Linked DNA regions of Homo sapiens: regions 2, 3, 4 and 5 are each linked to region 1. Evidence: promoter capture Hi-C in 16 types of primary human blood cells and fetal thymus (Javierre and others, 2016). All regions are on one chromosome and are shown on one strand. Each heading gives the region's core, a stretch centred on a gene start or on the middle of the fragment in contact. The rest is flanking DNA. Distances are from core to core; before and after follow the strand shown. Region 1 holds the start of ZMYND8 (zinc finger MYND-type containing 8). Region 2 has its middle 40 kb from the start of ARFGEF2. Region 3 holds the start of PREX1 (phosphatidylinositol-3,4,5-trisphosphate dependent Rac exchange factor 1). Region 4 overlaps PREX1 (phosphatidylinositol-3,4,5-trisphosphate dependent Rac exchange factor 1). Region 5 overlaps PREX1 (phosphatidylinositol-3,4,5-trisphosphate dependent Rac exchange factor 1).

What was found. The method cuts DNA at HindIII sites, captures the fragments that hold promoters and counts their contacts. A CHiCAGO score of 5 or more calls a contact.
Region 2: a fragment that was not itself captured here is called in contact with the fragment with the promoter of ZMYND8 in region 1 in 1 of 17 cell types (total CD8 T cells); the score reaches 6.0 in total CD8 T cells.
Region 3: a contact is called between the fragment with the promoter of PREX1 here and the fragment with the promoter of ZMYND8 in region 1, in 2 of 17 cell types (naive CD8 T cells and total B cells). The highest score is 10.0, in naive CD8 T cells.
Region 4: a contact is called between a fragment that was not itself captured here and the fragment with the promoter of ZMYND8 in region 1, in 1 of 17 cell types (total B cells). The highest score is 6.8, in total B cells.
Region 5: a fragment that was not itself captured here is called in contact with the fragment with the promoter of ZMYND8 in region 1 in 8 of 17 cell types (naive CD8 T cells, activated CD4 T cells, naive B cells and 5 more); the score reaches 8.2 in naive CD8 T cells.

What each region holds. Positions count from the first base shown.
Region 1 is chr20:47,353,314-47,358,894 of GRCh38, forward strand. It overlaps ZMYND8 (zinc finger MYND-type containing 8), which reads right to left and starts at 3,386. Exons shown (of 23, transcript NM_001281775.3): 1 at 3,344-3,386. The coding sequence starts at 3,357. LOC101927377 (a long non-coding RNA gene) reads left to right here. Exons shown (of 2, transcript NR_134501.1): 2 at 1-1,320. RefSeq lists enhancers at 3,197-3,366, 3,210-3,817, 3,352-3,646, 4,397-4,746, 4,426-5,031 and 3 more and a cis regulatory region at 5,493-5,581. The HindIII fragment of the contact is 2,834 bases long and covers 3,048-5,581 here.
Region 2 is chr20:48,878,563-48,884,143 of GRCh38, forward strand. It overlaps a transcript of PREX1 not described here. Among named protein-coding and RNA genes, the nearest start is that of ARFGEF2, 40 kb to the right of the region's middle. The HindIII fragment of the contact is 1,045 bases long and covers 2,447-3,491 here.
Region 3 is chr20:48,825,466-48,831,046 of GRCh38, forward strand. PREX1 (phosphatidylinositol-3,4,5-trisphosphate dependent Rac exchange factor 1) reads right to left here and starts at 2,534. Exons shown (of 40, transcript NM_020820.4): 1 at 2,177-2,534. The coding sequence starts at 2,395. RefSeq lists silencers at 2,028-2,097, 2,508-3,187. The HindIII fragment of the contact is 7,694 bases long and covers 1-5,581 here.
Region 4 is chr20:48,724,208-48,729,788 of GRCh38, forward strand. PREX1 (phosphatidylinositol-3,4,5-trisphosphate dependent Rac exchange factor 1) reads right to left here. Exons shown (of 40, transcript NM_020820.4): 5 at 2,083-2,184. Among named protein-coding and RNA genes, the nearest start is that of PREX1, 100 kb to the right of the region's middle. The HindIII fragment of the contact is 1,901 bases long and covers 652-2,552 here.
Region 5 is chr20:48,618,977-48,624,557 of GRCh38, forward strand. PREX1 (phosphatidylinositol-3,4,5-trisphosphate dependent Rac exchange factor 1) reads right to left here. Exons shown (of 40, transcript NM_020820.4): 40 at 5,276-5,581. Among named protein-coding and RNA genes, the nearest start is that of PREX1, 210 kb to the right of the region's middle. RefSeq lists enhancers at 1-441, 477-1,185, 2,008-2,067 and a silencer at 1,578-1,707. The HindIII fragment of the contact is 2,496 bases long and covers 1,919-4,414 here.

The sequences.
Region 1 (5,581 bases), core at 2,136-4,635:
AAGCTATTGTTTTCATCCCTAATTTATAATCCAAGAGGCCCCCAATTGTTTCTTTCTGACTCAAATCTTTGAGCTGTTAATTATAAAAGTAACTGGACTTGGCGCCAACGGGCTAACTATGATCAGGCTCAGCAATTAGAAAAACTCTGTAGAAAGTTTACTGAGTGATTATATATAATTAATTCCTAGTTACAGACTGAACACTGACCATTTTCTGGAGCTAATAAAAGCAGTTACTCCCCCTCCCCCACGTGAATGCCACTTAATTTCCCAAAGCAGAAAGTGAATCCATCCTGGAGGGTCTTGAAGGAAAAAAAAGGAGAGGAATCAAAAGCTTCAGTGTGTCTGTGTTTGCTCCTTGCAGCTGTGTATCCTCTTTGGGGACTGAGGAGGCAGAAGGAAAAAGGAAAACAGCCCAACATTCTGTTCCTCCTTCTGCAATTTACAAACGTGGCAGAGAGAACATTCTACCTTGATGAGAAAAAGAAGGGGGGTTGGGGGGAAGCAGGGAAGGGAGATGACCTAGGAATGGAAGGTAGGAGACGCTTCTGCTTGGCAGATCTGCTTTTCCTAAAAGGAACAAAGATGGTAGAAATTTCCAGAAGGCCCGTTCTTAGTTCGGCCACTGCAATTGTCAATCTTTAACCTTTCCTCCAAGTCTATTGGTTTAAAAGCTAGAGTAGAAGAACCCCATTGGGCTGCTCTGGGAGCCAGTACTGCCGTCCCTACCTAGTCCTGCTGCAATGCAGACATTTATTTTTTTCCCCCTTTCCTGAAACTGGAAAATAATGCTACTTTGAAAGCAATTAACTTTTTACAGACTCATGCTTGGTAGGGGTCACAGTACCAGAGGAAAAGTGGCTAGCTTGGTCCAGGGTTGGGAACTTGCTGGGGGCTGTACATTTGAAAACAGATCTTGGCTCTCCAAACCTGTGGGAGCCATTTTAATGCAAGCTTTTAGAGGACAAATGCCTTGCCCTTAAGTTCCCTTCCAGCCCAACAAACACAGTATTATGCAAACGTTGAAGGCACCAAACCAGGAGTCTTATGATTAGATATTGCTTCTAGGGAGGCCACAAGAACCTCGATATGTAATTTCCATTTACAGCAAGGAGATAAGAACAAAGAAAATAGCTGAGTGTCTGAACTTACTTGTTTGGGGCAGTGGCACTGTTCAGTTTTAAGTATATAACATCATTAACTGCCTGCAGTTTTACTCTAAGAAGCTAAGCTGGCCTGCCTTGCACAGACTTTTCTCAACTTAGAATGTGGTACGTTTCTGCTGATTAAATGAGCCTTTTTCCAATTCGGTGTCAGAAAGTGGGCTACTGGACACTCATTTGAAAGAAAAAAGATTACTGACTCCATAAAGTTGACATAACACAGCAATTGAATATATTTCCTGCATTTACGGTCATGTCGGATTGGTCTCCAAGCTGAAAATTTATGTACTGAACTTCTAGGGAAATTCTGAAGGTACTGCTAAACAAGACTCTACTTTTCCCACTTAACTTCTAGCTGCAGCCTTAAGTGGTCAAGGGAAATGTAAAAAGTGAGAAATCTTATGTGGGGCCAGCATGCATACAGATGTGTGGAGGAGACCTGAAAAAAGGCCAAAATGTGTTGGTCAGTGAGTCCTGAATCAAACCCAGTCTGGTGGTAGATGAGATTTTGCACTATACATAAGTCCTAAAACATGAGCACACTGACACCACCCCCCCAACACACACATACCACCACCACCACCAGCTTCTACACCACCAATGTTTTTAGGGCTCTGCACCTCTAAGAACAAGCAGTTTCATGACATTTCACAAGCACATCACCTACTCACAGTTTGAATATCCAAACAAACCCCATTAAAGGTCTAGAGTCAAGTCACAATGAACTGAACATTTCTCCCCTGACTCAGGGTAAACAGGAAGTATAATCTTCAATCCTAGCTGCAGGTTATCAGGAAAAACAGTGGATTCAAACAGTCACCTAAAATCAAGACACTCTTTAAAAAGCCCTTATTTTGTTCCTGCTAATGAAGCCCCCAACTCCTGTAGCCAAGACCCACTATTACAAACAGACCCCAAATGTTCGCAAAACTCTTCAAACATGGTCACAGAGGAAATGGATTGCTTTACTTACCCAACAAATGTTCAAGCAACCGTCTCATTTTTCCACAGTTAGGAAGAGAGAACAGGCTGGCAGATTTGGGACTTGATCAAAAAGGAAATTTTTTTAAACAGTTACATGGTATTATTAAAAACACACACAACAACAACAACACAACCCAACAACTGAATATGGAATGCTGTCATGAGCCACAGACATGATTTTATTTCCTCTACACTCCATGACACAGGAGAAGAGAGGAGGATACAATGTATAAAAGGGACAGGAAAATGAAAACAAGGATAAAAGGTAACATTAGTTCCTTGAAAATCATGCAAGAGTAGAAAGCTAAGGGATTCAGAATCCTTGCAGATTTTTTTTTTTTTTTTTTTTTGCAGGATGTTGTCCAAGATCTCTCCCCCCACCCCCCAGTCCCCATCCCTACTCCAAAAAACTTCCTCCAAAGCCTAGAAAACACTTTCAGAAACATTTGCTGGCTGTAGGCTGGCTTGCAGAACACTCTGTAGCAACCTAAGTCAGGAAAACAGGCTGAACAATGTAGTTTCAAGTGCAGAAGCTCTGTAGAATAAGAGAAGACCGTGTACAGACACCACCACCCACCTAGGCCCCAGGAGCTAGACTCTCCTTAGCACTGCTCTGCTGAGGGCACAATTCTTTTGCAAACACGCTCCTCTCTTGTCAAAACTTATCCAGCCTTCCCAGAACCTCTTTGGAGAGGCAAACTTGCCTGCTCTGCTGTCTGCCATGAGCTCTCCTTGGAGAGGAGCCTGTTTGCTTACCTTCCATTTTCTTCCCCCAGCAGGGCATGTGGCAAAAGAGAAGACAATAGTGCAGGGGTGGGAGGGGGGGAACTGCTCAGAGAGAGAGAGAGGGGAAGAGAGAGGGAAGAGGGAAAGAAAAAAAAAAAAAGAAGGAAAAAAAAAAGCTTCTTTTTTGGCATACCAGGATCTAGCTTCAAACTCTTCCAGAAACACCATGCCCTGGTGGAAGGAAAGGTGTGCCAGGCCCTTGCCAGTTTGCAAAATCAAGCTATGGCTAATGGCTACTGAGCCATGTGACCCAAGAAAGCAAAAAAATTCTCTCTAAACAGTTCCAAGTTAACATAAGTGCTCTGGGGGTGAGTGTGGCACGGCCAGCCACAGAGAAATCACACTGCTCGCCCACAATTCGGATGTCTCAGAGGGAGGGGGAAAAAAGATGGTTAAAAAGTCGAGCTTACCTCTGTGGATGCATTGTTAACACTGTGTAATGTCAATACTTATAAAACATGGAGGACAGGCTCCTAGTTCTCACAGAAAAAGGGTTTGGCACTTCGGCTGATGATCTGGCCGCCTAATAAAAGCTCATCCCCGATTGGCTGCCCCGGCAAATCGGAGTGTAAAGCCGCCCCGGATTGGCTGAAACACTTCCTGAGCGATTATCTTTGTGAGGCTCGGGTGAGCAAGAGCCATCCTGTGCATAGAAAAAGACAGGCTAAGCTAGGCCTTTTGCAGCAAGAAAAACTTGGGAAAGGGGCCCCCACACGCACTTCTCCTGCACCCTGGCTAGATTTCCCGGCACGGGCCAGCCAGGGCAGCCAGCCTGACCTGCTCCAGGAAAGCCTGAGGCCCGGAGGTCCCTGGGAAGGGAGTTTCTTGGAGTGGGCTGGAACGGCTCACCCTCACCTGCCCCCAGAGAAACGGCCCTTGTCCAGGGAGGAAGGCCAGCCTTTTTCTAGAACAGTCCAGCAGGGTGGCTCTCCAAGGGGAAGGGGAAGCTGGGGAGTGGGGAGTCCCGGGGAAACAGCCAAGGGGCCAGAAAAAGGGGCTTGAGGCAGGCCTCTGAGAAGCTGGGGGAAGCAGGCAGCCCGGGGGAGCCCCGAAAAATCAGCAGAGAGCAGCCCTGGCTTCTCAGAGGAGCGAGGAGTAGCTGCTGAGGGGAGGAGGGGAGCAGAGTGGTCAAGTTTGCATAGTCATTGTCCCCATGCCTCCTTGCAAGGCAGGCCAGGGAGCCGTGGGCCTCTCGCGCCCTGCTTAGCCAGTCCTGCAGGCAAAATCAACGTGGGTTCCTGTCGCCCTGCCACGATGCCAAGGGGGACCCCTCTCGGTCCTTACCCTAAGAAAAACCCAAAGCCCTCCTCGCAGGCCACATGCCTGGATCTACAAACTTCCCTTCCCTCCCGGCCCCTCCCCCGCGGCCGAGACCTGCTAAACCTGTCAGTTAAACACAAATCTGACTTCCGTATTAGCCTGCGATGCCTTCGGCTTCCTGCCTGTTAACCCTCTCTCGGACTCGGGGCCTGGCTGGGAAAAACTAGGCCTTGAGATCGCAGCGAAGGCCTGTGGAAAAATACCAGCTGCAGCTCTCCCGGCAGATGCAGAAAGAGAGAGAGAGAGCCGCTGTCTCTCAGCCTTTGCTTCCCAGGGAGGCGTGTACCTTGTGAATCCAGGGCACAGGCAGTGCCTCTCGGGCTGAGAAGCCATTTCAATCCAGAGGGAGACAGAAAGATGGCACGCTCAGCCCGGAAACAAGAGCCCCCATTATGCGTCAGGCCTACCCCCGTAGGTCAGCCCTTCCTGCCACAATCATCCCTGTATGTGTGTGCCTGGGGGAGTTGGGCCCTCCTCGGTGGGCAGACAAATCCCCTGGGCTTCCTAAGGATTCTTGCTTCCATTTATTTGCACAGAGAACGGCTTCTTTTCGTCCCCCAAGGCAGATGGAGCAGCGATTTCACACACAGCCCTCCATTTGGCAGCCCCCCCACCCCCCCATCTCTGGCACCGCTCCCCAGTAAAATATTAACTGGTTGTTCAGAGCTGCTTACAATTCTACCCACTTCAATTGCGTTAGGAGGTCTTTGCTGGTCTCCTCCCTAAAGCTGCCTTCGCAGTTGGTCTGTACCCAGAGATAGAAAAGGACCGTAAAATGTCCCCAGCTTTCTCGCTCTCTTTCCTTCTTCGGCATTTTAAATGACAAGGTGCTTAATTAACAGGATTTTTTAAAACAGCAACCTGGAACCACAGAAGCTAAATAAACACCATTCTTTAGAGGCTGGAGAAAGCGTCCAGAGTTAACGCAGCCATATGCCAGGAGGCATAACTCCGGAGCAATAAAGTCTCCCCTCTCCTCCTAAAATTAGGACTTGTGGGCTTTCTTGTCCCACACGGTTCCCACAAAGAAAACGAAGAGCTGATGGCTTGCTTTCCCTGCCCCCCCCCAACCCCCACATGGACAACAGATGCCCACTGCTTGTACATAAATTCTTCCTGGCCGGGAATCTCATATCAAACAGGCTCAGGAACGAGCTGGGAATCGAAACTCACTGTACGGCAGGGCAGGACCCAGGCTTTATAAAAACGGACAGGATGTTGCTGTTGTTACTGTTTTAGGCTGCTGAGGCCAAGCTGCAGGGAGGGACAGCTCCATGGCCACCCAACCTGACAAAGCTCCAGGGCTCAGGACAGCAGGCCTGGGCCTC
Region 2 (5,581 bases), core at 1,719-4,218, 1.5 Mb after region 1:
CTACTGACCTTGTGATCCATCCGCCTCAGCCTCCCAAAGTGCTGGGATTATAGGCATGAGCCACCGCGCCCGGCCACATTCCCCTTTTTCTGGCAACTCTCTGGCATCTGCCCTACCACACCTTCCTTCCATGTGTTTTAGGAAGTGTTGACCTATCCCAGATCCAGAGATGGACGTGTGACTTAGGCCTGGCCAATCAGAACATCCAACAGCATTCCAGAACCACTCATAGCATGTGGTTCAGGGATGGGCATGTGACCCAACTCAATCTAATGAGATTCAATCCTGAACCTTTATTGGGATGATTAGAAATGAAAAGCTTTCTGTATGTTGATATTATTAGAAGGATAATGGAAGTATTGAGGCTCCCAAGCCACCCGCTGGAGAGAAAACTCACTTGTGAGTAAAATCAGTGCCAGGGAAAGCAGAGCGGTGAAGCAGGAAGAGGAAAACTGAGTTCCGGTGACATCTTTGAGCCCCTGGATTCAGCCATGCCTGAATCCCACTAGACTTTTCAGTTACATATTGTAGTAGGTACCCTTCTTTGCTCAAGCCATTGTGACTTGGGTTGTAGTCACTTGTAACCAAGAGACCATTTTGAAGGGCTGCTATTGCGAGGATTAAATGAGATGGTGAATTACATGAAGTGTTTAGTACAATACGTGCTCCAAAAGAAAAAGTCATTATTATTTTGCAGTTTCATCTTCCATACACATATTTAAATCTGTTTTCCCTTTTACGTTCTTTACCTAAGAAAAAAATGTTTAAACTTATCTATAATCAAAGCTGGTATTCACTTGGGACCAGTGTAGTTATACTGGTTATTTAAATACTGAAATACATTCATAATAGTTGATAAACAGTACTGTTCTGAATCTCCCACATGCTCTGTGGCTCTCCAGAATGCACCCAACTCGTCTGTTGGAATCCTCTAGCTCATTCTACTATCTAGCACCTAAAAGGTTAACACCAGGTCTAGCAGGGCCTCCTGTATTCTGTTTATGATTAGCGTCTCATTCATGCTACATATTTTTAATATCACCTCTGGGTACATCTGTCAACTCGTCAATATGCCTGCATTAAATGGAAACACTAAATTATCAACAGCTCCATGAAATAAGACCCTTACTCCCCTCCAAATCACCAATTATTGATAACTATGTAACCTCTTCTGATCCTAAAAATGCCAGAGACATAATTATGCACAGTGGTGACAAAGCAGGCATGGGCACCAGGCCAAGTCCTATCTTTCCCCTTCCTGTTACTTTACAGAGCCTCTACCCTTATTTCTACATCATGGTCATATTTGTCATTCCTAGTTGCAATCTGATATTCCTTTGTTTTAATACACTATGGCTGGCCTAACTCTTCCTCCATGGTGGGACATATGGTCCATTTTTGTTCAGCTTTTCAAATGTTAAAAACTCACTCTGCTGGAAATTGAATTTCCATGTGGTGCCCATCTTTCTGGTAATAAGCCATGGATTTCCTTCCTGATTCAAACTTCAGTTTTGTGAATCACAAGACACAGTTTAACTTTTTGTCTGCAAATGTTTTCTGTTGCTGTTCTTTGAAATAAGAACCCATGTGCTCAATTGTGTAATGCTGTAGTTTAATAAATTATTCATTTTGACTCTAAGTCCACAAAGGACTCAAAGTGGTTTATACAAATATATACACCTTGAAATCAATACATGAGGTGGTCAAGGAGAAGGAAAAATAAGGAGTAGTATATCCGATTGGTATTGTGTTCAGCTGCTGGTAAGAGAGACCAGGAATAACAGTGGCATAAACACCACAGATGTTTATTTTTCTCTTACACAAATGAAATCTAGAGAGAGGAAACCCAGAGCTGATGTGGTAGCTCCACAAAATTGAGGATACGATCTCTTTCTATCATCCTGCCTCACTATCCTTAGAATGTGGCCTCCATCCTAAAGTCCACCTCGTGCTGCAGGATGACTGCAGGAGCTCCAGCTATTGCAGCCACATTTCGGGCAGCAAGAAGAAGGAAATGAAAAAATCCTGTAATCCCAGTTTTCTTTAAGGATCATTTTGGAAGTTCCAGCCCAAAACTTCAGCTTACATATAATTGGCCAGAATGTAGTCCTAGCTACAAAGGAGGCTGAGAAATGTAATCTCTTAGTTGTGCCTGATGCCACCCCAAATAAAGTTCAGGGCTTATTTACTAGGAAAGAAGGGCAAATGGATAATACATAGGCCACTAGTCATTTCTGCCACAGGTAAGAAAATGAAATAAAGCGAGACATTTAGCTGGTTCACAAAACTGCCTACTATAAGGACCTTTAAGGTGTCCAGCTGCCAAATTGTCTCTGAGAATCCTAGTAATGATAGCAGAAGGGGAATCTATGACTAAATACTAAGTGTAATATCTAAGCAAAGAGAGCAAACCATTGCTAAAAAAAAAAAAAAAAAAAAAAAAAAAAGCTTCTTTTCTCAATACAGAGATTAAAAAGCAACTCTACCCACAGGTCTTTGTGAGGAAGACATGGGACATGTGGACGATATCCTCACAATATTTCTGCAATAATGAAACAACATGATTCTGGGACTTGCTTCAAATATTCAGCGTGGGGGAGTGGGTAGGAGTATAGCGAAAACCAGATGGGCCATGAGTTGATAATTGTTGGACTGGGTGATGGAGACTGCTTTGTTATATGTTTCCCTTTACTGTGGTGTACATTTAACATTTTTCCATAATAAAAAAAGAATTTAAACCCAGCAATAAATCCTTTCCAACAATTGCTTTTTAAAATGCTCCTTTTAATAAACTTGCTTTTAAGTTCAATTGACAGGTGGTTTTTATCATAACTCCTCCCTCATATTTTTGGCCTTTGTATCTACTGTCCTTATTTATTAACTTATTTTTAACAGTTTTATTGAGATAGAATTTACATACAATTCATTTTTTTTTTTTTTTTGAGACAGGGTCTCACTCTGTCACCCAGGCTGGAGTGCAATGGTACGATCTCAGCTCACTACAACCTCTGCCTTCCGGGTTCAAGGGATTCTCCTGCCTCAGCCTCCTGAGTAGCTGGGTCTACAGGCACCTGCCACGACGCCCAGCTAATTTTTGTACTTTTAGTAGAGACGGGGTTTCACCCTATTGGCCGGGCTGGTCTCAAACGCCTGACTTTATGATCTGCCCACCTTGCCCTCCCAAAGTGCTGGGATTACAGGCGTAAGCCACAGCACCTGGCCTACAATTCATCTTTAAGTGTGCAATTCAATGGTTTCTTGTAGTTGTGCAACCATCACTACAATCTAATTTCGGAATGTTTTCATCACTCTCAAAAGAAACCCCATCCCCATCTCTACCCATGCTCCTTTCCCCACCCCCACCCCCAGCCCTAGACAACTACTAATCTACTTTCTGTCTCTATGCACTCCCCTATTCTGTATATATCATACAGATCATCATACAATATGTTTTTTATGACGAGCTTCTTCCACTTAACATGATGTCTTCAAGCTTCATCCATGCTACAGCATGTATCAGTTCTTTATAACTTTTTACAGCTAAAGAATATTCCATTATTTTGATATACATTTTGTTTAGACAACCATCAATTGATGGACATTTGCATTGCTTCCAGGTTTGGGGTATTATGAATTATGTTGTTAAGAATCTTCATGTTGCTGGGCGCGGTGGCTCACGCCTGTAATCCCAGCACTTTGGGAGGCGGAGGCAGGCGGATCACGAGGTCAGGAGATCAAGACCATCCTGGCTAACACGGTGAAACCCCGTCTCTACTAAAAATACAAAAAATTAGCCGGGTGTGGTGGCGGGCGCCTGTAGTCCCAGCTACTCGGGAGGTTGAGGCAGGAGAATGGCGTGAACCCAGGAGGTGGAGCTTGCAATGAGCCGAGATCGCGCCACTGCACTCAAGCCTGGGCAACACAGTGAGACTCCGTCTCAAAAAAAAAAAAAAAAAAAAAAAAAGAGAGAATCTTCATGTTTCTATGAAGTTTCTATGTGTATGTATATTTTTGTGTCTCTGGGGTATATATACCTAGGAGTAGAATTGCTGGGTTAAATGGCAATTCTATGCTTAATATTTTGAGGAACTGCCAAACTGTTTTCCAAAGTGGCTGTGGTATCTTACATTTTTGCCAGCAATATATAAGGACTGCAACTTCTCCACAGCCTCACTGACACTTGTTATTATCTGTCTTTTATTTTATCCTCACTAGTGGGTGTGGACTGGTATTTCATTGTGGCTTTAATTTGCATTTTCCCAGTGATAATAAATTTAATCATCTTTTCATAAGCTTATTGGTCATTTGTATATCTTCTTTAAAGGAGTGTCTATTCAAATTCTTTGTCCATCCTTCAGTTGGGTTGTCCTTTTTTTTTTTTTTTTTTTAGATGAAGTCTTGCTCTGTCACCCAGGCTGAAGCGCAGTGATGCAATCTTGGCCCACTGCGACCTCTCAGCCTCCCGGGTTCAAGCGACTCTCTTGCCTCAGCCTCCAGGCAGCTGGAATTACAGGCACATGCCACCACGCCCAGCTACTTTTTGTATTTTTTTAGTAGAGACGGGGTTTCACCATGTTGGCCAGACTGGTCTTAAACTCCTGACCTCAGGTATCTGTCCACCTTGGCCTCCCAAAGTGCTGGGATTACAGGCATGAGACACCGTGCCTGGCCCATTGTCTTTTCATGATCAAAACCACAAATAGAAAGGGCATTGTAAAAAATCCCACAGCTAACATCATACTTGATGGTGAATGAATGCTTTCCCCCTAAAATTAGCAACAAGACAAGATGTCTGCTCTCATTGCATCTATTAATTATTGTACTGGACATTCTAGCCAGGGCAATTACATAAGGGGGAAAAGGCATCCAGTTTAGAAAGGAAGACATAAAATTTTATTCTACTTTCAGATGTCTTGATCCTGTATATTATAAATGGCATGGAATCCACTAAAAATTGTTAGAATTAATAAACAAGCTTAGCAAAGCTGTGGGATATAAGATCAACATACAAAAATTTATCTCTATGAAGTGTCAATGAAAAATCAGAAAATAAAATTAAGCAAACAATTCATTTTACAATAGCATCAAAAAGGATAAAATACTTAGGAATAAATTTACAGAAGTACAAAACTTATGCTGTGAAGACTTGAAAACACTGTTGAAATATTAAAGAAGACCGAAATAAAAGGAAAGTCATTGCATTTTCATGGACTGATAGACTTAATATTATCAATGTAGCAATACTCCCCAAACTAATCTACAGGTTTAAAGCAATTCCTATAAAACTCCCAGCTGGGGCCGGGCGCAGTGGCTCAGGCCTGTAATCCCAGCACTTTGGGGGGCTGAGGTGGGCAGATCACGAGGTCAGCAGATCCAGACCATCCTGGCTAACACGGTGAAACCCCGTCTCTACTAAAAATACAAAAAACTAGCCAGGCGTGGTGGTGGACGCCTGTAGTCTCAGCTACTCGGGAGGCTGAGGCAGGAGAACGGCCGTGAACTCAGGAGGCGGAGCTTGCAGTGAGCCGAGATCACCACTGCACTCCAGCCTGGACGACAGAGCAAAACTCCGTCTAAAAAA
Region 3 (5,581 bases), core at 1,284-3,783, 1.5 Mb after region 1:
TAAGGAGATAATGTGAAAGTAGAGAAATCTTTTTTTTTCCTGTTTCTTGAATAATAAGAATGGTTGGCTCCAATCAATTTCCATTATTCCAGCTTCCTCCTACTCTACACGTGGACGATTTAAAACCACAGTTAACTCAAACACAATCTAGATCTGTTCTAAAATGAAACACACCATCTAGGGCAGGGGCGTGGGAGGGAGAGGTATATTTTCTTTCCCATTAATATCAAAATTGGTTTGTATTTCCTGTTTCTCTTCCAAGCAGAGGAGCATGGAGTGGCTCAGAAGGAGAAGTCAGGAGTTCCCTAGAATTTGACATTGCTCAGAGACACCAGGGTTGTCTACATGTTTAATTCAAAAACTGCCAGCTTCTAACAGAACAAATTCTTCCCCCACCCCCCACCCCCGAAACTGTGAGAGAAGAAGGGATGGGAAAGAAAGCCAATCCTGCCTTATTCTTACAGGCCTTCCTAGAAGGGTCCTTTAGCCAAATGGTTTTCAATGCTTCTGCACAACCCCCTCTCCCACATCCCCCTGCCCCCAGTACATCTCCTTTCACAGGCAGAAGGGCTCTAGTCTAAGGCTGTCTCCTCCCTGAGCTGGAACTCTGATCTCACACAGCCTCAGCTGCACCCCTAAGCCATGAGGAGCCCCAGAGGACCCCAGAGTCTCCCTCTTTCTCCCAAAGACTAGGAGCTACAAAGCCTGGCTCTAGGGTCTTTGAAAGAGCCACCCCCACACCAGCCCTTCCTGAACCAGGATTAAAAGACTTCCTAGAGCAGAGAAGGGGAGTAAATGAGGCCCCAGCAGGAGGCATGGAGATTAAAGACTTTAGAGTCTCCTAACTTCCATCCAAGGCTCTGCCCCGTCCCACCCCCTCCACCCGCTGGCCACTTTTCTCACTTCCTAGGAGAGTAGGGAAGTGGCCCCTTCCTCCCTCTCACAGAAAAAAAGCAAAAGAAAAATGCAGCATAGAATAGGGGTTTAGAACACCAGCTGGGATAGTCCCGGTTCAAAGCCCAGTACCCCCACTTAATCAGCTGTGCGATCCCAGACAAGCTACCCGGCCCCTCTGGAGCTAAACTTTCCCAATCTTAAAAACGGAGGAGGCAGGACCCAGTAGCTCACGCCTGTAATCCCTGCACTTTGGAGGCCGAGGTCGGCGGATCACTTGAGGCCAGGAGTCCAAGACCAGCATGGCCAACATGGTGAAATCCCCTCTCTGATAAAAATACAAAAATTAGTCGGCCGTGGTGGCTGGCGCGTGCCTGTAATCCCAGCTACTCGGGAGGCTGAGGCAAGAGAATTGCTTGAACCCGGGAGGCGGAGGTTGCAGTGAACCGAGATTGCGCCACTGTACTCCAGCCTGGGTGACTGAGGGAGACTCCGTCTCAAAAAAAAATTTTTTTAATTAAAAATGGGGGAAATACTCGTCCCTACTTCATAGACCGCCTGTGAAGGTTAAACCTGCTAATTAATGACACATGTAAGGTGTCTGGCACATAGTAAGTGGTCGGTTGTTATTTTACAAAGTCTGAGGCCGTGGTTTTGCACTTGGAGATGGGGAGTTGGTGGGGGTGGATGCAGTTAGGGAGCCTGGACTGCCGAGTTTTGAGTTCGAAACCCACTCTCCCCGAACTCCAGCAAAAACCTGTGCATGGGGGATTCTACCCTGGGGTTCTGTCAATCCCCGCCCCTCCTCTGAGCTTCAGGTTTTATCCTACTCCATCAACGCGCAGGGACGTTGGGCTCTGGGGCTCCTACGGTATGTCCTAGATGAGTGGTGCACCGGGCGCGTAGTTATTCCTGGGAAAAAGACGCAGGAGCGCCAGCTCCCGGCGCCGCCGGGGTCCCCAAGCCCCTGCATCGCGGATGTAACTAATTTTAAAACTATTTGAAAGGCGGGGACGGGGAAGAAAAGACAAAAGGGCAGCGCGCGCCGCGGGGAAGTGGAGTGCGGGAGAGCCCCGGTCGGAGCAGGACCGTGCGCCGGCCAGGGAGGGAGGCGACGCGACAGCTCTGGAGGAGCTCGGATCCCCCCCGCTTTCCGCGCGCCCTGCGGGGCGCCCCCGAGGCAATTCTCCACCCACGGGGACCACGGCCACAGGTTGTGGGGACCGCAGCGGGGCGAGCGGCTGGAGGGAAAGCTGTCCCCAAGCTCCCGAGCGACACTCACCGACTGCAAGAAGCGCAAGGTGCCCACGTAGTCCCTCTCGGTGCCCAAGATCTCGTTGAGGACGCAGAGGCGGAGGCGCAGCTGGCGCTCGGACTCCCGGGCGGCCGCGCACGGGCCGGGGCCGGAGCTGGGCGCCGCGGCGCCAGGGGCCCGGGGGTCCGGGTGGGCGCAGTCCCCGGCCCCGTCGCCGCCGGGCTCGCTGCCGCTGGGCGCCTCCATTCTAGCGCGGCCGCGCGGCGCCGGCTCCTTCCGTCGCGCCGAGCGGCAACTCAGGCGTCCAGGCGCCCCATCCCGGACGGGGCGCGCCGGCGGGCCGGGCTCAGCGGCGGGCCGGGCTCCCGGCGCGGCGGGCGGGACTGGGGGCCGGGCGGCTGGGCCGGGGGCGGAGGCAGCGCGCGGGGGCCGGGCGAGGGGCGGGAGGGGGCGGCCCTCGGGGCTCCCAGACGGCTGGCCCCCCGCCCCCGCGCCAGGGACCGTCTGCCAAGTGCCACGCCGCGCTCGGCCGCAGAGGCGCTCTGCGCGTGCACGGGGCCCCTGGGGACGCGGCGCGGCGCTCGGCGCCTCCGTCGGAAGCTCGGGGGTCGGGCGGGAGCCTCCGGAAGGGCCCCGCGGAGCCGGGAGTCCGAGGCCGCGCGCACGCCGAACCGAGCGTACCAACTCCGCGCCCGGACGCGTGGCGCCCCCCCAACCCGCAGTCACCGCGGGCTACGCCACTCCCACCCGGCACACGCGACACCCGCCGCGCGCAGGCTCCTGCTTGCAGGTCCGGCCGCTGCTCGGGCCAAGTAAACACCGGGCTGGGAAAGCTCGCTGCGGAGCCGCTCGGGGGCAAGCCAGCCCCGCCACGCGCGCCTCCGCGGCCCCGGGAAGTCAGGGGCGACCGCTGCCTGGGCAGTGACGGCCCCTCTCTGGGCAGTGACGGCCCCTCCCGGGAACGCCGGGCCCTCGCGGTGCCCTCGGTGCTACCACGACCTTGGGAAGGAACATGCGTGGCGCGCGCTCGCTCTCACTTTTCTCTTTCCCGTTTCCTTTCCCATCTCTCTCTTTCCTTCCTTCCTTTTCTTTCTGAACTTCTTTGCCCCCTGACCCTGCCCTTTCCACCTTTCCCAGAAGAAATTATTACCTGCTCTTGAGTTATTGATCAAGTGGCAGGTACCCTGCCTGCTCCCCCTTCCATCCACCCACCCCATGGGATAAGGCCTTGGGAAACCCAGCTTCTTGTCAGGTTGCTCTGGGCAATGTTGATCATCACCCGCCTTATCGGAAGGTATGGAGAGGGGAGGAAGTTCTGGGGCCTAGAGTCAGCTGCTCAGGTTCAAATCCTAGCTCCCCACTTGCTGGCCGGGTGGCCTTGGGCTGGTTTCCTTGCTTCAAGATCCTCAGTGTTTTCATCAGTATAACGGGAACGATCATGGTACCTAGCTCCAAGGTCCTCCCCGGGGTTCCATGGGAAGTACTTAGCACCTAGAAAGTTCTCTGTAAATGTTTGTTCTTACTATTATTGCATGTGTGAAGCCCAACACCTAGAAAGTTCTCTGTAAATGTTTGTTCTTACTATTATTGCATGTGTGAACGGCCCTCTAAGCCTGGCCCCACTCTCAAATGGCCCATACAATCCCTAATCACCCGTGTTTCCGGACCAGAGATTGTATCGTCTCTGCAGGGGATAAAGTGATCCACATAGTATCCGCCTCTAGACTGTAGTCATTTTATGGACAGAAACATTGCTTATTTATTCCTGTTCCAAAAGCCTAGGATTTTCCTCCCATTGGCCTCTCAATACTGTAAGTGCCTAAGGACACAGGGAGAGAATGGGGTGGCTTCTGCCCTCTCTGACTTCTTTCTTTGGGATCATGGGCAAGGTAGCATTTGATCTGGGCCTTGGGCTGAGTGAAGTTCCCCTGGGCAGGGAGTAAAGGACATGAGATAGGTGAGCCTGTCACGCTTGGGTAGTGGAGTCAATTGTGTCCAAAGGTAGCTGGTTTTTTATTTATATTTTTATTCCTAATAAAGGCCTCTGGAGTATCTCTGCTTTGTGACTTTAAACTGTTCACGGTACCTTTCTGAGCCTCCGTTTCCTCATCTTTAAATTAATTCTGTCTACCACGAGGGGAGAACATGGCTGGAACATAATGGACCATGGAATGAAGCGGGCTTGCATTTGTATCCCAGTCCAAATCCAACTGGCAGGGTAACCTTGGCCAAGACACGTTATTTCTCTGGGCCTCAGTCGTCTAATCTGTAAAAGGGGAGTCTTTGTGAGAGCGAATTCTATGCAATACAGACTTTCTCAACCTTGGGACTATTGACATTTGGAGTCACATAACTCTTTGTTGGGGGAGGGGCGTGTCCTGTGCATTTCAGGACATTTAGCCGCGTCCCCTACCCACTAGATGCCAGTAGCACTCCCTCCCCAATCTGAGAATCAAAAATGTCTCCAGGCTGGGCACAGTGGCTCCGGCCTCTAATCCCAGAATTTTAGGAGGTCCAAGTGGGAGGATTGTTTGATCCCAGAAGTTCAAGACCAGCCTGGGCAACATAGCAAGACCCTGTCTCTACAAAAAAATTTTAAAAATTAGCTGGGCATGGTGGCACACACCTGTAGTACCAGCTGCTGGGCTGAGGTGGGGAGCTTGCTTGAGCCCAGGAGGTCAGGGCTGCAAGTAAGCTGTGATCACACCACTGCACTCCAACCTGGACAACAGAGTAAGCCTTGCCTCAAAAATAAACAGAAAAAGTGTCTCCAGACATTGCCAGATATCCCTGGGGACAGAATTGCCCCCTGTTGAGAACCACTGATGTAAAGTACCTGACACACATAGCTGGCACAGAGTAGGTGCTCAACAAATGTTAGTTCCCTTCTCAGCCCATGACCAAGGAAGGTTAGCCTCAAGTTTACACACAAATCCCACATTTCACCCAAGAATTGGCCCACACTGCCAAAAAACATTTCCACGTTGTGGATGGGTCCCATCTCTGGCCCACCCCAATGTTTTATACATCGTTACTTCCTCAGATTCTGCTGGGATCTTTTTCCCCTTCCATCCCCATCCCCAGTGGTAATGATGACACTAAAAGATAATACAGCGTTTAGTAACATACTTAAGCTCTCTGTGCCTTGCTTTCCTCATCTGTGAACTAAGAATAATATCAGTACCTACATCATAAAGTCGTTGCAAGGTTCCTGAGTGCATACATGGAGGGTGCTTAGAGCACACAGTAGGTGCTCAATAAGTGAAGTCTTTTACAATGCGTGGATTGAGTGCTGAATCTAATAGGATGCATTTGGCTGCAAGGAGAAGAAAACTGGGCTATTGATAGCTTAAAGCATAAGGACATTATTTAGCAAGAGGTCCAGAGGCAGTTGGTTCCTGAGGCTGGTGTAGGACTTCATGATGTCATCAA
Region 4 (5,581 bases), core at 352-2,851, 1.4 Mb after region 1:
GATTCTACTGCTTATCTACTACGTGGCCTTGGAAAGGCCACTTCCTTTCTCTGTGCCTCAGCTGCCCCATCTCCAAGAGGGGGCTAATCACAGTGCCTACCTTGCTGAGTTGCCGTTAGAACTAAGTCCATGCTTACTTGTCATAACAACCCCGTAAGTACCATTAACATGAACCCTATGTTTCAATGAGAAACTGAGGCACAGGGACGGATAGTGACTTGCCCAAGGTTACACACTCGTAAATGACAGAGAAATTCAAATCCAGACTGCTTATGGCTGCAACGGCTGACTCTCATCCAGGGGTCAGCACATTTTTGCTGTAAAGGGCCAGATGGTAAATATTTTAGGCTCTGCTGGCTACATCCACTCTCTGCTACATATTCTTCTGGGGTTTTGCTTGTTCGTTTAACAAAGCTTTTAAAAAAAAGAGTAAACATCATTCTTAGCTCATAGGCTGTATAAAAACAGGCCATGGGCTATATTTGGCCCAGAGGCCACAGTTTTGCCCACCCTGTCTCTAACCACTACAGTACACTGTCTCTTAATGCTGGTAGCTAATCCAAGTTCGAAAGACACATCACACAGATCACACAAAGCACATCTGCAGGCCCGATTTGGTCCACAGGCTACCAGTTTATAAGTTTCACCTGAAGCTTCTTCCACAACCAGGTGAAGACCTGAGCTACAGCATTTCTAAGACCTATCTAGGGATCGAAGCCATGGCAACAACAAGTGCTGAAGTTCCTTTCGAGATTGCTGGGAGAGATCAACAGCAGGAGCAGACCAGAGGAGGCATGGGAGAGCTGCGTCCCACCCCCACGGCTGCGCACAGCAAAGTCCTGTGTTCGTGGGCAGAGCTGATGGCCCCAGGGTCTGGCCCAGTTCAGAGGCTCCAGCATCACCCACCTTCTCCAGCAGAAAACCAAGATGAAGAATGCCCTGGTACCCTTCCCCTCCCCTTTTGCTTCCAGTTCATGGAGCAAAAATACACAAACCCCTGTGAGCAGGTGCGTGAATGAGGCCCCACCAGCCAAATTAATCCCCCCACAGGGAACCTAAAACACAGCTGCCTTCAGGACAGAGCCAGGACAGGCTCCGGCCAATAGCCATTTTGTTCAGCCATTTCCAAGGGCTGAAACCCTGGGCTGAGAGCAGTGGAAGGCGGAAGAGCCGTCCCCTGGGCTCAGGATCTGTCCAGCAGCCAGGCTGAAGCCTAGAATCAAGACTTCTCCATCCCCACAGAAGCAGCAAACCTTCCCTGCTTTGCCCAGCCAAGACAAAGCCAGGGCTGGCGGCAGGGAAGGAAACAGCAGGTGTATGGAAGGCTGCATTTGCCCAGCCAACACCTATGCCTGCCCTCACCCTGCCTTCCACAAACAGCTCAGACTTTGGTCACGTGGGGTTCATCTGTCCTCACTCATGGCCTGTGGGACCTAGTGATTGGTTCAAGGTTGGAGCACATGACCCAAGTCTGAGCCAATTAGAATTCCCTTGCTCAAAATGATTGGTTCAGGAGTGCAGCACCTGACCCAGGTCTCAGCCAATCAGAACACAACACTGCCCTGCTCACTGTCATTGGATCAGAGTGGAGTGAGACCATGTCTCAGCTAATCAGAGCACAGCAATAGTGATTGGTTCAGGGGTAAAGCACGGGTCTAAGCTGACTGGAGGATGATAAATGGTACATGCAAAGGCTTCATGTAATTTGTCCAGGTCAAAGCGCATGACTCAGGCCCAAACCATTTGGCATATGACCTTCCCCTGGCTGCAGATAGCCAAAGACAGAATGAATCTCAGGACTTTCCTCAGCTCTTAGTAGAGAGGTTCACTCTTTCCCACTGACCTTAAACTTGAGAGGATGTGAGGCCAGGAGAACCACAGCCACCTGCTGCCACACTGAAAATAAGCCTGAATGGTGGAAAGCAGGGTGAACGAGAGAGAAAGAGGCAGGGTCCTGGTTTAAATCCAGCCCGGCCCAAAGCTGACACTGCTGCTAGACTTCTCAGATACTTGAACTAACAAATTTTATGTTATGCTGAAGCCAAAGAGTTTTCTGTCACTTCAAATACGGGAAAGTCTCACCTTAAGGAGGAGCGGGTACTTGCAGATCCTCTGGATCGGAGACAACAGGTAGCCTTCCAAAGGGATGTCCGTGGTCTTCCGGCCTCCCAGAAGCATGCAGCTCTGCAAAGGGACAGGAGACCTTCATGAAACCCACCAAGGATAGCACAGGGACATAGCCACCCTCAACCATGAGAAACGCTCTCAGAGCACAGCTACAATCACTTGGCAAGCGATTTAGCGACCCGTAGAAGTGAAAACGTGCATCATCTACAACCAACACAAACCCTACTGGGCCAAATCTTGCCTACTCCCCATTTTGGTAAGTTTTATTAGAAACACAGCCACATCCATCACATTGGCTGTGGCCCCCTACAAGCTACAACGGCAGAGCTGAGTTGTTGGGGAAAAAAAGGCCATATAGTGGCAAAACTTAAAATATTGACTATCTGGCCTTTTACAGAAAAATTCACCCATTCCTGGTCTAGAGAAGCTTTCACATATACACACCAGGAGACTCAAAAATGCCTTGCTTACAACAGTAAAAAATGGGACGCGACCTAAATATCCATCACCTGAGAATGGAAACATCTGTATTTTTGTTTCAGTCTGTTTGCAGCAGATTTATACAATGGTAGCTAGCTATGCAGCAGTTAAAATGAGATAACCAGGGCCACACGTAGCAACACGGGCGAACCCCAAAAATGTACTCTTGTGCAAAAGAAAGAAGGATATGTACAGTATGAAGCCACTTACAGAGATCTTTTAAAGACATGGCACATAAAACTATGCGCTGTTTATGGAGAGCATGTATGAGGTCAAATATAAAGACATGCGTGTTAAAGGAATGCACCCAATTCCAGTGGGGGTTCCCTCTGTGGAGGGAGAGTTTTGGGTTGGAAAGTGAACCAAGAACCTTCAACTGTTACTGAAAATGTCCTAGTTCTTTAGCTGGGAGGAGTGTACGTGATTCTGTCATATGCATACCTCTATTTTGGCTTGCAGAGTTAAAAAGTACAGCTCTCTTAGGAATGGAATACCGTTACCCTAACTCCCACGCTCAGCCCTAAGCTCCTGTCCACATGAATCAACCCAGTGTTCTCCATGTCAATACTTCCGCCCTGCAGCCCCCTTGCCTCTCTCGGCTCATTCCATGCCTCTTCTCTGGAATGTATTCTCTTCCCCAATAAAAATAATAATAATAATAATACTGCTATCATCCATCGTAAACACTGACCAAGAGCTAATCATGTGTCCAGCAGGCCTCTAGGGCTCCCAACCACCAACCACCCTATCAACTGAAAACTATGATTATTCTCATCTCACAGCTTAGATCCCTGGGGTGTGAGAGGTTTAGTCTTTTACTCCAAGACCATCCCAGAAAAGTGAGTCACAGAGCTGGGACCTAGAGCCAGGCGGGTTGACACCGAGTCTGGGATTGAAACCATGATGCCCATGTGCCCTTACCCCAAGCCCACCCATGCACCAAGGCCATCCCTGCCACCCAACCTGCTCTCAATTCCCAGGACTTCTTCCTCCTAGAGCCTTCATAGGTGGCCATTTGTTCCACGTGGCTCTCAATCACATTACAGGCACTACCCTCTCCTTCAGAGAGGCTCCAACTTAAGAATCCATTTTTGTTTGGCAGGAACCATGAGTTCTGCTGTGTTTCCCTGCCATGCCCTTCACAGTCCTGGGTCCCTCAGGCTCACTATGTGCCCATTATGTGTAAGTGAATGAACTAACCAACTAACTAATGAAGGAACCACCCACCAGCACATCCAGCCATTCCTCCTCAACACCACCCTGGCAAACTGGAAATGAATCCAGACTCTTGGGAAAAGGGATTCCCATCCTATCATTTATTCATTCATTCAACAAATACACATTGTGTGCTGTGTGCTGTGTGCTGTGCACAGTTCCAAGCACTGGGGGGCTGCCCAACAAAACAAATTCCCTGCTTATATTCAAGTGAAAATAAGACCATAAGAACACATACCATGTGCCCACCATATGCCACACGCTGTGCCTTGTGCTTCACATACACAGAAAGTTCATGCCGAAAGCCTAAGGAAATAAGCATGGACCACTGTCCCCTACCACACATGGGGAAATCGTGGCACGAAGAGCTGGCCCAAGTCTCAGAGCTACTTCCACTGCCTCTTAGGGATCACAATAAGCTCTGCCTGGAAAAGCAGAATTCTGGGGACCCCAGGTCCCAGCTCTAGCTGAGCTGAATGGCCCCCACCAGTGTTTACCCCTGGCACAGATGGGGGATTGAGGCTGCGGCAGCTGGGAGATGCCGGGCCCCACGCTGCTCACACTCAGGCCTTTGTCCTAGGAGCCAGCACTTGCCACAGGCTGCCCTGGTGATGTCAGCTCTGGGCAGAGTGCAGGGCGCCTGGGGGTGGGGAAGTGCTTTCTAGAAGCCCCCAGGGCTTGGCGTGAGAAGGGCCCATCTTTGTCCAGGATCAAGGAGTTTTCACAAGATTTTCACAGCCACCAAGGACACTTCCCCACAAACACTCTAGATTGTGGTTTCACTTTATTTTCTTTTAAAAAAAAACAAAAACAAAAAAAACAGGCAAACACACACAGAGCTAGCATTCACTATTCTCACTACATTTCAGGCACTATGGGAAGAACTTCTGAGAAGTCCTTAAATGCTCAAAATTCACAGAAGTGAGTTAGATGAGGCGTCAACCTCATGGTCTTCCCAACCTCCTAATGGCAGCACGTTCCTGGACTATCCTGAGTCCTCCCTTTCTGCCCATGCTGCCCCCCTGGCTGATCCCACCCTGACTCGGCTTTTTTTTCTTTTTTTTCCTGGACAGAATCTCATTCTGTCGCCCAGGCTGGAGTGCAGTGTGCAATCTCGGCTCACTGCAACCTCTGCCTCCTAGGTTCAAGTGATTCTCCTGCCTCAGTCTCCTGAGTAGCTGGGATTACAGGTGCACACCACCATGCCCAGCTAATTTTTGTATTTTTAGTAGAGACAGGGTTTTGCCATGTCATCTAGGCTGGTCTTGAACTCCTGACCTCAGGTGATCTGCCTGCCTCGGCCTCCTAAAGTGCTAGGATTACAGGTGTGAGCCACCGTGCCTGGCCCTGACTTGGCTTTAAACACCATCTTTCTTTATATTGAAAACACTCAGGTTTATCTCTCTAGCCCCTAAACTCCCGACTAGAGTCTCTGCTGCCCCCCCAATGCCCCACCTGGATGTACTGCAGGTATCTTAAGCCTCACACATCCAAAAGGGAATGTTTATTTCCCTCTCCTACCCTAGCCTGCACCCTCTTGGGAAAATGCAACTCCATTCTTCCAGTTGCTTGGGCCCAAAACCCTAAAGTCATATTTGACTCCTCTCGTTCATTTATATCCAAAGTCAATGATCAGGCAAATTGTGTCAGCTCAGGCCCTCATGCTCTATGTGAATCCAACCACCTCTCCCACCACAACCACGCTGTTCGCAGACACCATCGCTTCCTGCCCGGACATTGCAGTAGCCCTGCAGTCGGT
Region 5 (5,581 bases), core at 1,917-4,416, 1.3 Mb after region 1:
AGTCAGTCTCTCACTCCATCACCCAGGCTGGAGCGGAGCAGTGGTTTGATCATGGCTCACTGCAGCCTCGACCTCCCTAGGCTCGGGTGATCCTCCCACCTCAGCCTGGGACCACAGGCTTGCACCACCACCCCAAGCTAATTTTTTTTCTTTATTTTTAATAGAGACAGGGTCTCACTATGTTACCCAGGCTGGTCTCAAACTCCTGCGCTCAAGCAATCCTCCAGCCTCAGCCTCCCAAAGTGCTGGGATGACAGGCGTGAGTCAGGGCACCTGGCTCTAGACTTTCGTCGACGTCCTTTCTGGCTCAGACATTCTGAGCCTCCACCATCGGGTAGGGTCAGACCTTCTGAGCCTCTGCCATCCAGACAGACCCAGATGGATCAGAGGAGGGTGCGAGGGTGAGGGTGAGGCAGAGTGTTCCCAGTCCCTCTTTATGGCCAAGACTCTGCAAACAGGACATGGATCTGGCTTGGATAGGACACAGATGTGACAGCCCTCATGTCTCCCCAGCCTCAGTGCCCCAGGACCCCCTGCCCTCTTCCTGACAGCAGGGGATGTGAGGGAAGGAGGGCAGCCCTGCATCCCACACCCAGGCCCCCTCCCCTCCCCTGATACCCAGCAGCCACGGGTCCATCGTCTTCCAGTGTCAGCCACGCACCATGAAAACAGATACCACCCACCGGGGCCATTCCTGTGCTGTTTTTCAAAGAGCTGTTTGGGCCAAAAGCCAGCAATGCAAGTCTGTGTGCCCTGCAGGGCTGGCCCTCCTCCAGCTCTTCATCTCTGAACCTCCTGTCCCTGGAGCAGCTCATCTCAGCCCTGCCAGTGTCTGGAAAGTGCCCATCATCACCTACAGCTCTAGGAGGGCTCTGGCGAAGCACAAATCAGGACCTGAGAGCATCTCCCGTTACCCATCAGCCCCGTGGCGGTGACATGTGTCCAGCAGGCAGCAGAGCCACTGGGAGGGGCACAGGGTGGGTTGGCTCTGATTGGAGCGGACATGGCAAGAAGGATCTGGAGGTGGAAGCCAGGGCAGCAGGGCCAGCTGCAGGGTGGGGGTGCTCGGGCAGCCCAGCATGGGGAACTGGAGCCTGGAAAGTGCTGGAAGGGAAACATTGCAGGAAGCAGGAGGACAGGGAAGCACCCACCCCACATGCTGGGCAGAGGCTGGCTAGGGACCCGCCCTGGGAGTGGATGGACTTGAATCCTGGGCCCCTCTGCTGAGACCCTCAGGACTTCGGGATGGGAAAACAGAACAGCACAGGGCCGCTGCAGTGACCCAGGGAGAGGAGCTGAGCCAAGCCACCCTCACGCACCCAAGGACCTGCCCCTGGGCCACACCCCAGACAGAGCCCCGGGCTCAGGGTCTGGAGCCACACGGCCTGGGCTCAAATCCAGCCACTGTCCTTGTGAGCAAACTTTGGCTGCAATAATGGGAGGTGCAGCTGGTGAAGGCGCTGGCAGCGGAGGCATTTCCTTAGCATCCCTCTCCTAACCACCCCTGCCCCACTCCAGCCCTCCAGGGAACGCTACCAGTGCCCGGAGGGAGGCAGCTTCAGGCTTGGCTTTCGGCCTCCCCTGCCTGCAAACCCCGAGCTCCAGGCTTGCAGTGGGAGCCTCCCAGGAGCTCTGGGCAGGAGGCCCGCAAGGCTAGGCGGGGCGCCCTGGCCCACAGCGCCATCTAGTGGCCGTCACTTCCACAAAGGTGCACCAGTGACTGTGGGTTTCTGGTCACAAGCTTCGTAAGCACCCCGCTTTACAGTGCATAAGGGCCTTTCATATCCTTCTCCTCCAATCAGAAGAGAGGAAGGGAAAAAAGAGAAAAGAGAGAAGGGAAAGATCCCCGAAAGGAAAGAATTGAAAAATCGAGTCAAGCTCACAGACATATGTTATGGGACAAAGACAAATATAGAAAAGCTTAGAGAGAGAGAAAGAAAATGAGGGGGACGAAAGTAAGAAAGAGACAAATTTTAAAAAGTTTTTAAAAAGAGAGAAAAAAAGAGAAAATATTCACGGCAAGCCCAGCCCAGGAGAGGGATAGCGCCAGTGCCCATTGTCCAGACGATTCCAGGCCCCGCCTCCAGGCTGGCTCTGTCCCAAATACCTGCACCCAGGAGCCAGCCTTCGGTCTGAGTGCTGGAGCCCGGGGAACAGCAGCCTCTGGGCACTACGCGGTCCCCAGCACCACCTGCTGGACAGACAGGGCACTACACTTATCCCGGGAAGTTCCACTTTGGGGCCCTGGAGGAGACTCCTGGTACCCCCGCAAGGCAGCCAGGTGGGCGTAAAGTCTCCATTTCTCAAAGAAGGAAGCTGAGGGTCCCAGAAAGACAGAGAATCTCAGATATGGCCACTCAGCAAGTATCAGGTGTTGACAGATTCAGGAGCAGGCGAGGGTGTCTGACTTCAAAGGTCCTAGTCCAGCCCCCCATGAATGAACCCACGTGGCAGACACAGAGGTTAGAGGGGCCCGCTTGGCCACAGATGGGTGTGGCTTGCGCCCCCCGCTCTGATCACTGTGCTAACCCTGCTTTCTTCTATTAATATTTAGCCGTGATTCACCACTGTCTGGCCCTGGGCTACAGTATGGAAGGGGTGTGGTTCCTGCTCTTACTGCTGGGGGGAAGGTGGACAGGAAGTACACCAACAGTTATTTAGATAAAATCATAAAGCGGTCAACACACCCCATCGTACCTTCCACTTCCTGGGTGGCCTCTGTTGCAGTCCACGCCAAGGGGCCATCTCTGGGTCAGCACCTTTTGACAGATGAAAAAACTGAGGCTCAGAGGAATTCAACCACCTGGGCCCTGCCCTCATCCTGGAGGAGCAGAGAAGGAGAGGCTCCGAGAGACGTCAATGCGGGGCTGCGCCTGCCCCTTGATTCTCCATTGGACGGCACAGTGACTCCGGGTCACCAGGTCCTCCCCGAGCTGACATCGCCATGGCAAGTCCAGAGCTAAGGATCTGGCCGTCAGCGTGAGCAGGCCGGATGAGTGCTCGGACCACGTGGCTCCGGGGAGCTGGAGAGCTGGCACCCTCCTCAAGAAGACAGCCGCTCCTCAGCTCCAGCTGACATGTAGCCAGGTGGGAATGTGGACCAGTGTGACCAGAGCTTCTGATTTTTTCTTTAATCTTTTTTTTAAGAGGCAGGACCACACTACGTTGCCCAGGCTGGAGTGCAGTTGGCTATTCACAGGTGTGATCAAAGCGCACGACAGCCTTGAACTCCTGGTCTCAAGCAATCCTCCCACCTTTGCCTCCAAGTAGCTGGGACCACAGGTGCGCACCACCACACCCAGCTCAGAGCTTCTGATTTTCGAGACAAACTAAAAATCAGAATTCAGAGATGAAATTTGCTGGTTCATAAATATAATTCATTTTTTTAAAACACCATATCAGGAAGGAAGTAAAAAAAAAAACCCACATTTAGTTCCAAGTTTCAGCCTGGAGCCATCAGTTTGAGACCTCTTGTCTCCTGCAAAAATGTCCGCTTGCTCTGAGAGGCCCTTCGTGCTTAGTTTTATACTTGGAGAAACACATCTCGGAGAGGGAGGTGGGCCCGGCTCTCCCTCCCAACTCTGCAAGCACAGCTCTGAGCCTGTAAAGTATGCAACTTGCTCAAGGCCACAGAGAGCCGGCTGGAAACCCAAGCTGCTCCTGCCTACGGCCCCAGGAGAATGTATGTTCCTTCTGCGGGCCCCCAGGGTGGAGGAGAGGCTGAAATCGATGCTTTCTAGAAACGTGTCTGCCTGAAGGAAGACGTCCAATCCTCCCTGTTGACCTCAAATATAGATTGAGGTAACAGGTCTTCCCTCGAAGTGATTTTCCCTGGATCCAAACACTGGCCTCAGATAATTCTAAATAATCAATCCATGACTGTGCCTGAAACCCCACCAGGATTCCCTCTTGCCTGTTAGAGTATTGAGTCCTTTGAAACCTGTAACTGAGAGACGCGAGGATCTCTCTCTGGGAGGGATCCAATCTGGGCCTTCAGAGAATGTAATCTGCAACAGGTTAGTTTGGAAGGAAAAGAGACTGAAAGAGAAGGGGCTCGAGTGTGAAATGGCAGGGCTGGGTGCAGCACCATGGTACAGGGGAGTCCCAAGGGTGGCCATGACCCAGAGGAAACTGTCATCGATTTCAGCATTTTCCAAAGGATTGGAAATCGGGAAAAGATGGAATAAAGAAGAGGCCATACGCAACATACCGAAACCCGGTCTCTATAAAAATTTTTAAAAATTAGCCAGGCATGGTGGTGTGTGCCTGTAGTCCAGGCTACTTGGTAGGCAGCATACTGAAACCTGGTCTCCACAAAAAATTTAACAAATTAGCCAGGCGTGGTGGCACGTGCCTGTAGTTGCAGTTACTTGGGATGCTGAGGTGGGAGGATAAATTGAGCCCAGGAGGTCGAAGCTTAAGTGAGTCATGATCGCGCCACTGCACTCTACCCTGGGTGATAAGAGCAAAAGACCCTGTCTCAAAAAAAAAAAAAAAGGACGAGGGGGCACAGGGCTGGCACAGCAGAACAGGTCTGCAGCCCAGGGAATGAGGTTTCTCTGACTATGCAAACAAACCCAGGCAGCTTCATAAAGATCACCTGGGCCCAGGCAGGTGGAGAACCTGCTGACAGCCTAGGATGCAGCCACCAGGCCCAGGTGTGCACGCAGACTCTCTATTCTCATTGGTGCATTTCACGTCTGCCCAATAGGCCTGTTTGTGGCCAGCGTAAGTTCTGGCTGACTGGGGGTCCGGCACGACCATGTTGTGGGTATTTTGAACTCCACTCCCGCCTGGATCCAACAGGCCTTGCAGGTTGGAGCGAGGAGGATTCTATGGCACCCCTTGGATCCACACTGTCCCCTCAGCACAAGTAAGCCACCCAGGAGGAGGTGTGGAATTCCTGGGAAAACAGTCACTTTTTCCTACCTTCACAGTGAAATGGGAGCTCAGAATCCAGGGGGGAAAAAAGCTGAAATATCAAATAAGGCCTGTTATTTTCCTGTATACCTGGGTTGCAGGCAATCCGTGCAACCTCGGGTCGTCCTCAGCAATCACCCCGCGAGAGAAGCTGCATCGCCCCATTATCAAGGAGGAAACTGAGGCACAGAGTGAAAACATCACTGACTTCGGGGTCGCTGGTTCAAGGCCCCGATGCAGAGATCAGCACTGTCCTCCATGAGGCTTTTAAAGCGCGAGCTCATCCCCTAGTGCCCCCGGCCGCACCCACCCCCCAAGCCACCCACCGCAGATGAAGCAGATCACAGCCTCGTTCTTTGTATTATAAACTGACTTTTAATAATAATAAAAAATCTATCAAGAATTTAACGAGAAGAATCTGTACATTTTAAAGTAAACCAGTGCACAATGCGCTGGCCCTGGGCCCTCCCCCATTTCCCGCAGCAGGGCTAAAGCGGGTCCTCCTTTGTCTCTGATGCAAGATACAGTGACAAGGCCACTGCCTGCCCTCGTGTATGCTGCGGCAAGAGAGGGAAGCGCACCCTGGAGGGCGGGAGGCTCGGATGCCAGATGCCGGGAGGGCTTCAAGCTCCCAGGCCTGGGGGCAGCAGGGAGCCCCCAC